3 separate regions of the Homo sapiens genome follow, and regions 2 and 3 are each linked to region 1. The links are contacts of gene promoters, found by promoter capture Hi-C in human tissues and cell types (Jung and others, 2019). All regions are on one chromosome and are shown on one strand. The core of a region is centred on a gene start or on the middle of the fragment in contact, and the rest is flanking DNA. Distances in the headings are between cores, read along the strand shown. Region 1 holds the start of TSPYL6 (TSPY like 6). Region 2 has its middle 13 kb from the start of CIMIP6. Region 3 overlaps ACYP2 (acylphosphatase 2).

Evidence for each region. Contacts are between HindIII fragments. The study calls those that stand out against the background at their distance.
Region 2: a fragment that was not itself captured here is called in contact with the fragment with the promoter of TSPYL6 in region 1 in 3 of the 25 tissues and cell types used here (IMR-90 fibroblasts, aorta and heart left ventricle).
Region 3: a fragment that was not itself captured here is called in contact with the fragment with the promoter of TSPYL6 in region 1 in 1 of the 25 tissues and cell types used here (IMR-90 fibroblasts).

The regions. Positions count from the first base shown.
Region 1 is chr2:54,254,428-54,258,495 of GRCh38, forward strand. TSPYL6 (TSPY like 6) reads right to left here and starts at 1,802. Exons shown (of 1, transcript NM_001003937.3): 1 at 1-1,802. The coding sequence starts at 1,724. The coding sequence ends at 492. All of the region lies in intron 3 of ACYP2 (acylphosphatase 2), which reads left to right. The region is part of intron 1 of LOC105374610 (a long non-coding RNA gene); the gene reads right to left. The HindIII fragment of the contact is 10,397 bases long and covers 1-4,068 here.
Region 2 is chr2:54,315,479-54,319,546 of GRCh38, forward strand. No RefSeq gene overlaps it. Among named protein-coding and RNA genes, the nearest start is that of CIMIP6, 13 kb to the right of the region's middle. The HindIII fragment of the contact is 7,495 bases long and covers 1-4,068 here.
Region 3 is chr2:54,290,108-54,294,175 of GRCh38, forward strand. The region is part of intron 3 of ACYP2 (acylphosphatase 2); the gene reads left to right. Among named protein-coding and RNA genes, the nearest start is that of TSPYL6, 36 kb to the left of the region's middle. The HindIII fragment of the contact is 5,840 bases long and covers 1-4,068 here.

The DNA.
Region 1 (4,068 bases), core at 552-3,051:
TGGGGTCCCATAATTCACACAGACCAACTTGCCCCCTGCTGTTCTCCCTTGACTTCATTAATGCCCAGCAATTGTCCACAGGCCATGCACCTGTACTGTCAGATGCAGAGCAGGGTGAGCTGAATAGGTTCTTAGACACAGCTAGAAATCCAAGTAGGAGGAGCCAGACCAGAGGTCCTGGGAACAAACCGAGTCCAAACAAAGGTAAATACAGTGTAACCTACAGCATCATTCGCTTCGCTTAGAAGGATGTGACCCATCGGCTGGGAGCATGTGATGTTAATGCAGAATAGCAAGACGACCAGGTGAAAGGGGAGCAGCACAGCCACCAAGGTCTCAATCTTCAGGTTGAGAGAACGGAAAGTTTAAACAGAGGGTACAGGAAAGTCAGAACAAAAAAAGTAAAGGGCATACCTAATGCTGTTGCCCAAGCTCAGGTCCAGCTGGTGGTGGCAGGCAACCTTCTGCAGGAGTAATTCCAAAGGCAAAGGTTAACCACACTGGAACCCAAAGGGCCTGGGGATCTCCACTGGCTCCCTTACCAGGCGACGTCTAGCTCTATGGGCGTCTTCACCCAACAGGTAGTACTGCAGTGGATTTGACCAGAGGTCCTCTTTAATAATCTGAGCAATCCTGTCGGACTCTGGAAGGCTGTGGTCTGAAAACCAGGTGAAGAAGCTGCAGATGACATGTCGGTTCCTATGAATGAAGGACTGGGGTCCATGGCCCCGGCGCCACATGATTAGAGTGGAAAAAGACACCACTTGGCCGAAGGATCTGACCTCATACACCTTTACAATCAGCTTGTTTCTGAAGTAAGGGTTTCTTTGAAAGAAGAACTTAAACTTGCAGCCTGTCCTAGGGTGTCTGAGCTCCTTCACTTCCAAATTGGTTAAGTAGCTTAACATCTCGGCATCTTGGCCTCTAATCATGGCAGACAGCTGTGGGTGGTGGCGGAAAGCAGTGACCCAGAAGCCCGGGATATTGCGAATGATGTCATTCCTCTGCTCCAGGTAGTATTCATGAATCTGCCCAAACCTGCGCTCCACCTGCAGGAGCGCCCTGTCAGCCTCTGCATTCACGGAGTCCAGTTCCAGCTGGATGGACTCCAGGGGGTTCAGGTGGAGACCCACGTTCAGGGGCCCGGGCCCGGGCCCAGGCCCTGCCTCCCTGTTTACCTCATCTATTGCTCTGTTTTCTTCCGCCACGTCCATTTCTTCGCCTCCTGGCTTCTCATCCACTGGGGCTGAGAACATGGCACACTCCTCAGGCTTCACGTCCTCGGCCTTCCCCTCTGCAATCACTTCAGACTCCGACCTCCCTGCCCCACAGGTTTCTAGAGCCTTCTCCCCACCTAGGCCGTGCGTCTCTTCACCCGGAAAGCCATTTTTGAGGCTGCCGTCAGTTGTCAGCGAGGCAGAGGCCGCTTCTAGGCCCTCCGCGGGTGGTGGAGTCACTTCCTGCCCCGCTTTGATGGCTCCATGACTGCGACCCGCATCGACCAAGATGTGGAAAGTATGGCCACCATCTGCGGGATCCTGGGGCGCGACCCCCTCCTCTGGAAGCCGGGGCGGTGGGAACACGATTGGCTCCAAGCGGCCATCAAACATATCTGCCATTACCTCTGTCGCCTTGCTCTTTTCTCGGGACCTCTGGCCCTGGTGCGGGTCTTCCAGAGCATAGTCGAGAGTAGCGGGGCTGTGAGGACTCTCCGGGAGGCTCATGTTGGTAGCGGCCAGGGCAGCAGTGGGTAGAGGCCAGGCCAGAGGTAGGTAGCGTCAACGTTCCTCACACAAAATGGCGAGTAAACACCTCGCCCATTTGCGCCGCCCACTCTTCAGTCTCGCGACACCCACCCCTCAGTCTCGCGACACTCACTCCTCAGTCTCGCGAGTCTGTGGTGGTGTCTTTACGTCTTTGTTATTTTAGCCATCGTGCTGGATGAGTAATGATATTACATGGTGGTTTTAATTTGCATTTAGCCAAAGTCTAATGAGCTGAGAACCTTCTCATGTGTTTGTTGGCCACTAGGATATTCTCTCTTGTGCAGTATCCGAGGCTTCTCCCTATTTCTCTACTGGGCTGACGTTATTTTTCATATGGATTTGTAGGAAGCCTTTGTACATGCTAGATACTAGTCAGTCATTCTTCCAGTATAGGTATTACAAATATTTCTCTTCCAGTATAGGTATTACAAATATTTCCTCCCACTCTGTGGGGTTACTTTTCTTTTGGACTCGTAGTTTCGCTGTCGCCGAGGCTGGAGTACAATGGCATGATCTCAGCTCACTGAAGCTGCCGCCTCCCAAGTTCAAGCGATTCTCCTGCTTCAGCCTCCCAAGTAGCCGGGATTACAGGCGCCCACCACCATGCCCGGTTTTTTTGTTTGTTTGTTTTGTTTTGTTTTGTTTTGTATTTTTAGTCAAGACATGGTTTTGCCATGTTGGCCAGGCTGGTCTGAACTCCTGGCCTCAGGTGATCCGCCCATCTTGGCCTCCCAAAGTGCTGGGATTACAGGCATGAGCAACCGTACCTGGCCTACTTTTTCACCATCTTAATGGTACCTTTTGAAGAACAAAAGTTTTTCATCTTAATATGTGCCAATTTGTCATTTTCCCCTTTACCTTAGTGTTTTTCTGCTCTGTTTAAGAAATCTTACCTCTCACCTGGGCACAGTGCCTCACACCTGTAATCCTAGCACTTTGAGAGGCGGAGACGGGAGGATCAGTTGAGCCTAGGAGTTGGAGACCAGCCTGGGCAACACAGCAAGACCCCATCTCTATTTTTAAAAAGAAGAAAAAAAGAGGAATCTTATCTCACCAAGATTGTTCAAATTTATATATGCCATCCATCTGGAATTGATTTTTATGAGTGGGGTCACAATTTCTTTTTTTCCATATGAATATCTAATTGACCCAGCACTGTTTATTGAAAAGACAATTCTTTCCCCATGCATAGGTTTTTAAATGTTTCTGTCAGAAGTGACATAAATCATTGGCTACAGCTAGTCAGTTGGCCTTGTCTAACTTTAATAGGACAGGGAGGTGTAATCTTCTCTTGAGCCTGGAAGGAGGAAACTGGAAATATTGGCAAGTGCTGTATCACTCATCATGAAAAATAATTTGAGAAATATATAAAAGACCAATAGAATTAGGCCAAAGGACATAGAGAAAAGGTAATAATAAACAGGAGAAATTTATGTAAGACAATACAGAGCATTAACCAAAGATTAATAATAAAAGGAGAGAGAAAATAAGCAATATTTGGAGAGAAAATTATAGTCACATTGATGGTTTAAATAAATATAAGACAGGATGTTAGACAGCTTTATGCCAATACATTTTCAAACTTAGATGAAATATATGGCTTCATAGAAATGTATAACTTATCAACACGGACTGAAATGCAATAGAAAATCTAAATAGACCTAGAGACAATAAACAAATGGAATCAGTAGCTTAAAAAAATGTTTCCACAAAAATAGCATGAGGTTCAAATGATTTTGAGGCGACTGCTACCAAACCTTCAAGGAACACATAATCCATTTTTATATTTATTAAACATTCAACAAATATTTATTAAACATTCAACAAATGTTTATTGGGTACCTACTGTGTGCCTGGTACTCTTATAGGCCCTCTGGATATAACGGTGAACAGACCAAAGATTTCTTCCCTCTTGGGGTTTACATTTTAGCAGGGGAGAAAGATAATAACAAGAAACCAATATTGCACATTAGAAAGTTATAAGTGCTATGGAAAAAACAATAGAGCAAGGAGATTGAAAGTCCTGGGGGTAGGGAGTGGGGAGGAGATTGTAGTATGAAATAGGGTGGTCAGAGGAAGCCTCATTGAAAATATGAGATTTTGGCAAAGAGTCAAAGAAGTTGAGGGAGTCAGCTAGTAGAAATCCTGGAGGAGAGCATTTCAGCACGAGAAGTGCTAAGCAGAGGCACTAAGACAGGAGCATGTCTGGAATGTTCAAGAAATAACAAGGAGGCCAGCGTGACTGGAGCACAGTGAATGAGGGAGGCTAGATCAAGTAGGGTCTTGTATGATAGTGTAAGAA
Region 2 (4,068 bases), core at 1,152-3,651, 62 kb after region 1:
TCTATATCCATTGAGATATGAAAATGAAGACAAAATTTAAACTTTATCAGATAAACCAAATTTGGAAAAAATTGTCAGCAGAGCTGCACAAGAAATGTTATATGAAGTTCTTTCAATTGAGGGGAAATGACACCAGATGGAAACTCAGATTTACGTAAAGAAATAAAGAGTACTAGAAAGGGTACATATGGGAATAAATTAAGAAGACATTTTCTTCTCATTAAAGAAAATTTAAGACAGTAGACTCCTCACAACAAAAATAACAGCCATTTATTGATGGGCTTATAATACATACAAAAGCAGTATGCATGACAATAATACTGCAAATGATACGAGGGAGAAATCTAAGTATTCTGTGTAAGGGTCTTGCACTATACATAAAGTAGTATAATTTGAAGGTAGACTATAAGTTAAATTTCCACATTGTAAGCCTTAGAGCAATGACTTTTAAAAAAGCTATGTTCTATATCTGGATTTAGGTGAAGTTTACACAGGTAGGTGTGTGAGTTTGTGTGGATACACATATATATTTGTCAAAATTCATTAACTTATAATCTTAAAATAGGTACATTTTATTGTATGTGAATTCTACCTCAATAATGTTTGATTTTTTTTTTTTTGAAGTGGTCAGGCAGATTTGAAAAAGAACCAAATAAAATGTTTTAAATGTTTCAAAAAACATAAATGCTAAAGTTATAAACTTAGACATCATGTTAAACAGTAGATTAGATACAGCCAAAGAGAATATTAGTGAGCTGAAAACAAATTTATGAAAATTGCCAAAATACTATATAAACACTGAAAAATTGAAAGAAAGTAGAGACACAGAAGATAGAAGGAAAAGTCTTAAAAATGTCTTATCAAATTCTAAGAATTAAAGGGAAGAAAGAGGATAAGTAATCATGGTGATGACAGAAAATTCTGCAAAACTGACCCAAAAAACTAGAGTCTACACAGAGAGCACAACATATTCCAAGACAACACTTTTAAAATTCATGAACATGTTATAATAAAATTGTAGAGTTTAAATAACAAAGGTGAAATATTTAAAAGCAGCCAGAGAGAAAAGATAGATCACCAAACAGCAATTGGTTTTATAGCTGACTGTTCAACAGCAACAATGGAAGCCAGAAAAAAGTGGAATAATATCTTCAAGATCTTAATATAGAGTAACTATCAACCAGAACTGTCTTTTTAAAATGAGAGAGAAAAAAAGAATGAAGACATTTTTGGCAAACCAAAATCTGGTATTATAAGCCTGTGTATTTTGAGAAAAAGCAGAAAACAAAAGTGTGTATATGTGAGTCTTCATGGAAACTATATATAGTTTTACTCTCTGCAGCTTTTTGCATATAGTTTTGTGTGTACATGTAGTGTTACATATATGCATAAAAATGTATATTACATAGGATATAGAATACATAGAAAGAATTCCATATATGTACATAGAATTATGTTTCATATGGATATAGTCTAGGTATAAGTATACCTCTAAATAGCTCTACCAATAGAGCTTTCTGTAATAATAAAAAATGTTTTATATTTGGGCTAATACCATTGCCACTAGCCACAGGTGGCTATTAAGCCCTTGAAATGTGACCGAAATTTTTTGTTGTATTTAATTTTAATTAATTTAAACATAAACAGTTGCATGTGGCTAGTGACTACAATATAAGAAAGCACAGCTATAGACTGATGGTGGGAAATGGAAGCAAATCCATTGAAATTGGATGGTGATTGTCTCCAACTGGTAGAATTTTGCTTTATATCTATCTGTATTTATGCATTCCTTTTATAATATGAAAAAGCTTATTTAAAATTATGCATTATATTTCTAATTCCTAATTTGAAATAAGTCGTGATTTTACCAGAAAATTTTAGAATTAAACTTTAATAGTGTAGAAACTGAATTAGCACTTAATCCTTATAGTGTTTATCTCTGGATATTTTTATGCCAACAAAGAGTCTTGCAACGGAAACTTCATTTTTTTTAAGTTCTTTTTTCTTTTTTTGGTAGAGAAGAGGCATGTTGTCCAGGCTAATCTCAAACTCCTGGCTTCAAGCCATCCTCCTGCCTCAGCCTACCAAGGCATGAGACACCACACCCAGCCAGAAACCTCATTTTCATTTAAGTAAATCAGCTTTGAGTTTTCACATTAGAATAAAATCAGTAGTTTCTTTACAACAATATTTCTTTTGCACTGTGATGGATCTAGATAGGATTATTTGTAAAAAATGCAAGAAAAGATATTCTATCTCAGAGACATCATGGATTTATACTCTGAAAATATAAAAATAAGTTAAAATGTTGAAACTTTCACTCATTCATCTAATTGTATATCATAATTTTAAAAAAGACATCTTTGGGTTTGTGGTTGCATACAATTTAACAAATATTTTAATAAAGTAGAAAATAAAATTAATGGTTGAGATGAAGAAAGGATTTAATATTAGATTATTAAGAAATTGGGAGGACACACTATAAATTCTTCCAGTTTGCCTCTGACCTCCTTACCATCCCTCTCCCATACCAATTTGCTTGAATTTAGCAAGAGTAAGAATTATCTTAATGGGTCCCATTAGTGCCTACAATATGCAGTCTGCATAATACATTTGAGACATCAGCATTCTGGTATTTAGGCTGTAGCTTAACTCGGATTTTAAAAAGAATGCCAATGTTCCATTCATTGTTTCACCCATTGTTTGAAAACAGAGTGGGGAAAAAAAATGAGCTATTTTCAAATGTCAGCAAACCCTGGTAACTGTAAATGTTCAGAGCTGTCAATCCATGGCACATCACAGAGGTTTAATTCAGCAGTACGTGTATAAGCAAGTATCACTGCCAGCCATGAGTTCAGACTACTAATACAAGTTTAATTTCTACTCTGCACATCCTTTAGTACTACAAGTATCACTACATTTAAAAAATTCACCATATGCAAGGACAAAACTTGGGTATGTTAAAGCTCTCTTCATTTGATTACATTTCAAAGTATCACTCTGAGATATTACAAAACAGATCATTTTCATGATAATCATGTTTTTCCAAACCATAACATGCATTGTTTTTTAAGTGGAAGACTTAAATGCTAGCTGTCCTTAAGTAGCCCACAATTTGACTGAGACACAAGATAGTCACAAACACACATCTAGAGTAAAATTCTAAGGTAATAAACAAATGATGCCATGGTACTATAATCTGTGTGGTGTTAACCCTAAAATTAAGGGTCAATATTGTGTGTTGCCTTGACATCTGGCTTGATTGGGAGGGCCTCAAATGGTTTTCCTGAAGTTCCCTTGCCCCCAACTCTGTTCCCATGAAAAAGGTTCCCTACCCAAACAACCCTCCCTGCTTATCACTAAATTCAGTTCCTTACCAGCCGACAGAATTATTTAAATAAGCCAATCACGTCCTTCGGCGAAAAGTGCGGGTCATCCCATTTTCTTGATACCACACAGCCTGCTTCCCACAGCCTCTGGTTCCTCATTCTCTTTTCTAGTGCAATCCCCACGTGGCCCTGCATGGCATGGCGTCCTCTTGTCCTTGGCTGTTAGTATGCGTGACTAATAAACTGCTGCCAATCACATCTGTTCAGTGTCAGATGTCATGAGTTTAACCATTCCCCTAATGCTAGGGCAGGAATCTCTCCATCATCAGCAGGGTGAATAGGGGGTGATTAAAACAGGATGTACCTCATAATACTGTAAGAAGTGTAGTTTTAGAAAAAGACCCTTATGATGGCTGTCTGAAAAGGTTTTGTGAAAGAGGTTGGTCTGGATGGAGATTAGTATTAGGATCTTACTTCTGGGATTCTCTGCTGAAGGAGCATATAGACAAGAAATGATGACAAAATAGTCAACAAAACACTGATTTCATTAGCTAGACAAAGACCCATTGCAATAATAAAAACTTTAGTAAAAACTAGATTACAGAAATTGATTTAGGATAGGAGGCCAAAGTGAACTCTCTTATTTCTTATACTCTCTGCCTTGAAGTCTATACCCTCCCTCCAAACAGTTGCATGATTATGGATGACTGGTCCATCAGCTCCAAGGTGCAGGTAGGAC
Region 3 (4,068 bases), core at 1,149-3,648, 36 kb after region 1:
TATGAATTTCCCTTTGAGGACTTGCACATTCCTCTCGGCACAGAGGTCGGAGCCGGTGGGTGCCCGGCTGCCGCCGCCCCGCGATCAATGGCACCTGAAGCTTCCCCGGGCGAGGCCGTGGCTGCCTGGCTTGGTCCCGGAGTCCACGGCCACAGAGACTGGTGCCTTGAAGACGTGGTTTTTATAACCATAGAACGTTGCATGCCTTATTTTAATGGAAAAGGTATCTAACGAAGTCGGCCGTAAAGCAAAACTCCTTAAATAAATCTGTTCCCCCACCCCTACCATTTCCATTATAAAATCAAACAAACAGTATCAGCAAGCCGGGAAAATACAGAGCTTTTTATGTTTGCACCTCACTTTGTTCCCAGCAGGATTTAAAGTGATTTGTAAGCGTATGTAAAACAAGAGCATGTACATTTAAAAGTGAAAAGGGATTAAAAACTAGGGTGGGGACATAAAATAGAGCCAGGACAAGGCTTAAGTGATGCCTAAAATAACAACCTCTGCTATGAGTGGGCCACAATTTGGCACTAGATTATCTAGTAGTTCTCTATCGGCTAATGGCATCCCCCAACCCCAACTCAATTTGTTTATGAGCATTTTTGGTGGGAGATGGAGAGATCAGGGTGAGGGTGAAAACGCAGGCGTGTCTGGCCAACTCATTTTTCATTTGGCTTCATGTAGGAGTCGATTTTAACATAACTGGAAGAGAGAACATCCTGGACTGTGCATCCTTAAAGCAATCTTCCTCAAATATTGCTCTTCTGAGACAAAGGCGCTCGTAAATATTGGAAGGCATTGAATTCAAAATCTAGGCAGGCTTGCCTTGCCAAGAACAGAACCGTAAAGATGTATACAGCTGCTCTCTCTCCTCTCCTTCACAGGCAGACAGCTAGAAAGATGATCTATTCTTGCTGTCTTAGATTCTTAACTTCCCCCTCACTCTAAAACCATGCAAATCTAGCTTCCACCCCCACCACTTCACTGAAGCTGAGCTTGCTGAGGTCCCCAAAGCACTTTTCAGTTATTTTACTTGGGTCCTGACAGCATTTGGACACTGACTGCTCCCTTCTTAAAATACCTTTGCCTTGGGTTTTCCTAACAGCACACGTTGGTGGCTATCATCTCCCTCTTCTCTGGTCATGCCTTCTACATGTCCTCTGTTGCCTTCTTCTGCACCTGACCCTTCAATGTTGGTTGGGATGCTGTTCTAGTGCTGAGAACCCTGTACCAGAAAGGGTCCACAGAAGTGTGGCCACCATACAGACCGGCAAAAAAAATCTAATTCCTCTGAATCCCAGAGTGAAGAATTTCATGAAGCTCTTGTTAACTGAATAATGGCTGCAGTAGACGTGGTATATTGGCTTGGTCGACCTCTATTCCAAACTCCTTCTGGGGTCTTTCACGTACTGCAGACACTGGAGAGCTAGGAGCTACATTTCCTGACTGCCTCGCAGCAAGAGTTTCAAATGTGATTTAGTCATTATTAATCAGAGGTATTCCTGTGAAATTTGAATTTGGGACTGAGTTCAGTGGAGAAAGAGGCAGCAGTGCCTGAGGCATCCATTTAGCTGGTGTGAAGATCTAGCCCATGTGGCTCGGGGGCCAACAATTCTGGTGGTGCCTTCCTGATACCTGGACTGATAGTTAGGGTAGTATATTCATAAATACAGTATTTTTCCTGGCAGTCAGATTCCCCTAATAGGCCTATCAGGAAAAATTGTCCAAGGCTTGAAATTGGGTCATAGAGATCGGGAGTGTCTTTCAGGAAAATTCTGATATGGTCTGGTAGAAACTTTAGGAATTTTCTAATTCTATAGGGGTATGCACTGGTGACTTCCTATTAACTAAACTATTTTACAACTCTGTAAGGTAGAAATTTATTTGCAGCAAACTATAGAAATCCAGATAGTTTTGTTTTTTACTTTTTAATTTTATTTGAATGTAGCAGAAACAGGATCTCATTCTGTTGTCCAGGCTGGTCTCAAACTCCTGAGCTCAAGCAATCCTCCTGCCTCGGACTCCCAAAGTGCTGGAATTACCAGCATGACCAGCCACAAATAATTCTTATCCATAGCAAAACAAATCTTTTTTTTTTGGTAGATATAAAATTGATTTTAGCCCTGAAGAAAAGATAATTCCAAACATTATTTTTTATTGCCCTAAAGCTACATTGTCTAATATGAAAGCTACTAGCTATGTAGTTATTGAACTCTTATAATGTGGCAAGTTTGAATTGAGATGTCTTATAGGTATAAAATATACACCAGATTTCAAAGACTCGATATGAAAAAGTATGTAAAAAGATCTCATTGATTTTATTATATTGATAACATCTTGAAATAATTATATCTTGGATAGAGTGGGTTAAATAAGATATTATTAAAATTAATTTTAACTATTTTTACTTCTTAAAATGTGACTCTTAGAAAATTTAAATTACAGATGAGGCTTGCATTATGGTTCTGTCAGACAGTGCTGTCCTGTAGAATTTTAGCCAGTTTTGCATCTATTAACCAGTTGATTGAAACATTTCTGATTGTGTGTGTATATATGTATACACACACACACACACACACACACACACACACACACACACGTGTATGTATCTCTGAATTCTCCTTTGAACTGGACTTAACATCTTACAGATTCCCTCATTAATTAATGTATTAAATAAAATATTTGTGACATGTCATTTTATACTTGCATGAGAATCACAGTTCTAACATTTATACTTTAGCAGTCAATTCTGCAGAGTTGCTCCAACAGGCCCAATCTAGATTTGTTATTCCAGTTCTTCCAATTATTTTGTAAGTACCTAATTCCCTGTATTAAATTCCATCCTAAAATGGCTAAGGTGGTTTTAGTTACCTGCTACTGCACCCTGACTATACCCTGACATTAGCTTAAAATTGAACATTTACTATTTTCCAGATACTGTGTTAAACACTTTACAGATTATTTTATTTAATCGTCACCGCAACTCTGTGAGGGAGGCAGTATACTCCTCATTTTACAGATGAGGCACTGAGAGTTTAAGAAACTTCTCCAAGACAACCAGGAAGTAGTAGCTGGACTCACACCTAAGCATACTGACTCTAAAGTCTACTTCCATCCATTACCACTGTGCCAGCACCTATTCTGTTCCACCAAATAAAACAGAAAGAAGGGCATATCTGTCACTAGATATGTGTTGACCTAGAAGCTGCGGTGCGGCAAGGAAGTTACAGGTTATAGTCATCCCCTCACTTGTTCTGCCTTCTCTACTCCTAGGACCTTTGATTCAATTAGCTGGTTCTCAGAATCCTGGGCATAGCTCAAGCCTGAGTGGCTCTTCCAGACTCTCACCCAACTGAGGAGGTTGGATGATGCGCCATTTTCCGCTGCAAGCTGAGAAGCACCTCTGCCAAGACCAAGAGGTCTCACTGGTGGAGATGCACTAGAAGTATGTGACTCTGAGGGTCACAGAGCTTGCTAAACAGGCTGTCTACCATCTTTGGCAAAGGCAGGAAACAATTACACTGTAATAATAGTTATTAATGGCCAGATGTTGCACTAAGTGATTTACATACATTCTCTCTAATCCTTTCAATAGCTCAGTGGGGTGAGTAGCAGTATCATCCTTTTAAAAATGAGGAATCTTAGGTCTTAGGTTAATTATGGATGCTCTAGGATTTCCTGGATAATCACTGAACTCACTAATCAAGGGCTACATATCTGACAAATATTTCAGACATTAAAACATTTGATAATAAAGGAGTCTATGGTATTATTTGTCCACATGTAACTGAATAAAGAAACTTGTTAAAGAAAGGAGAATGGCAAAAATGTTATATATTATCCTTCCATTATTAATGCTAGTTTAAAAGCTTGAAATTGACAGGCAACTCAGTATTTTCCAACATGCATCACATTAGCTTTTAATTCATTATCTGTCTTTATTTTTTACTGTCTCCTTTCTTGCTATGGTCTTCATTTTATACTGGCGCTGAAGAGACATCTGAAAGGATTATGCCACCCCACTTTAGTCCCAGGGAATAGAACTACTATGAATTATTGATAGTG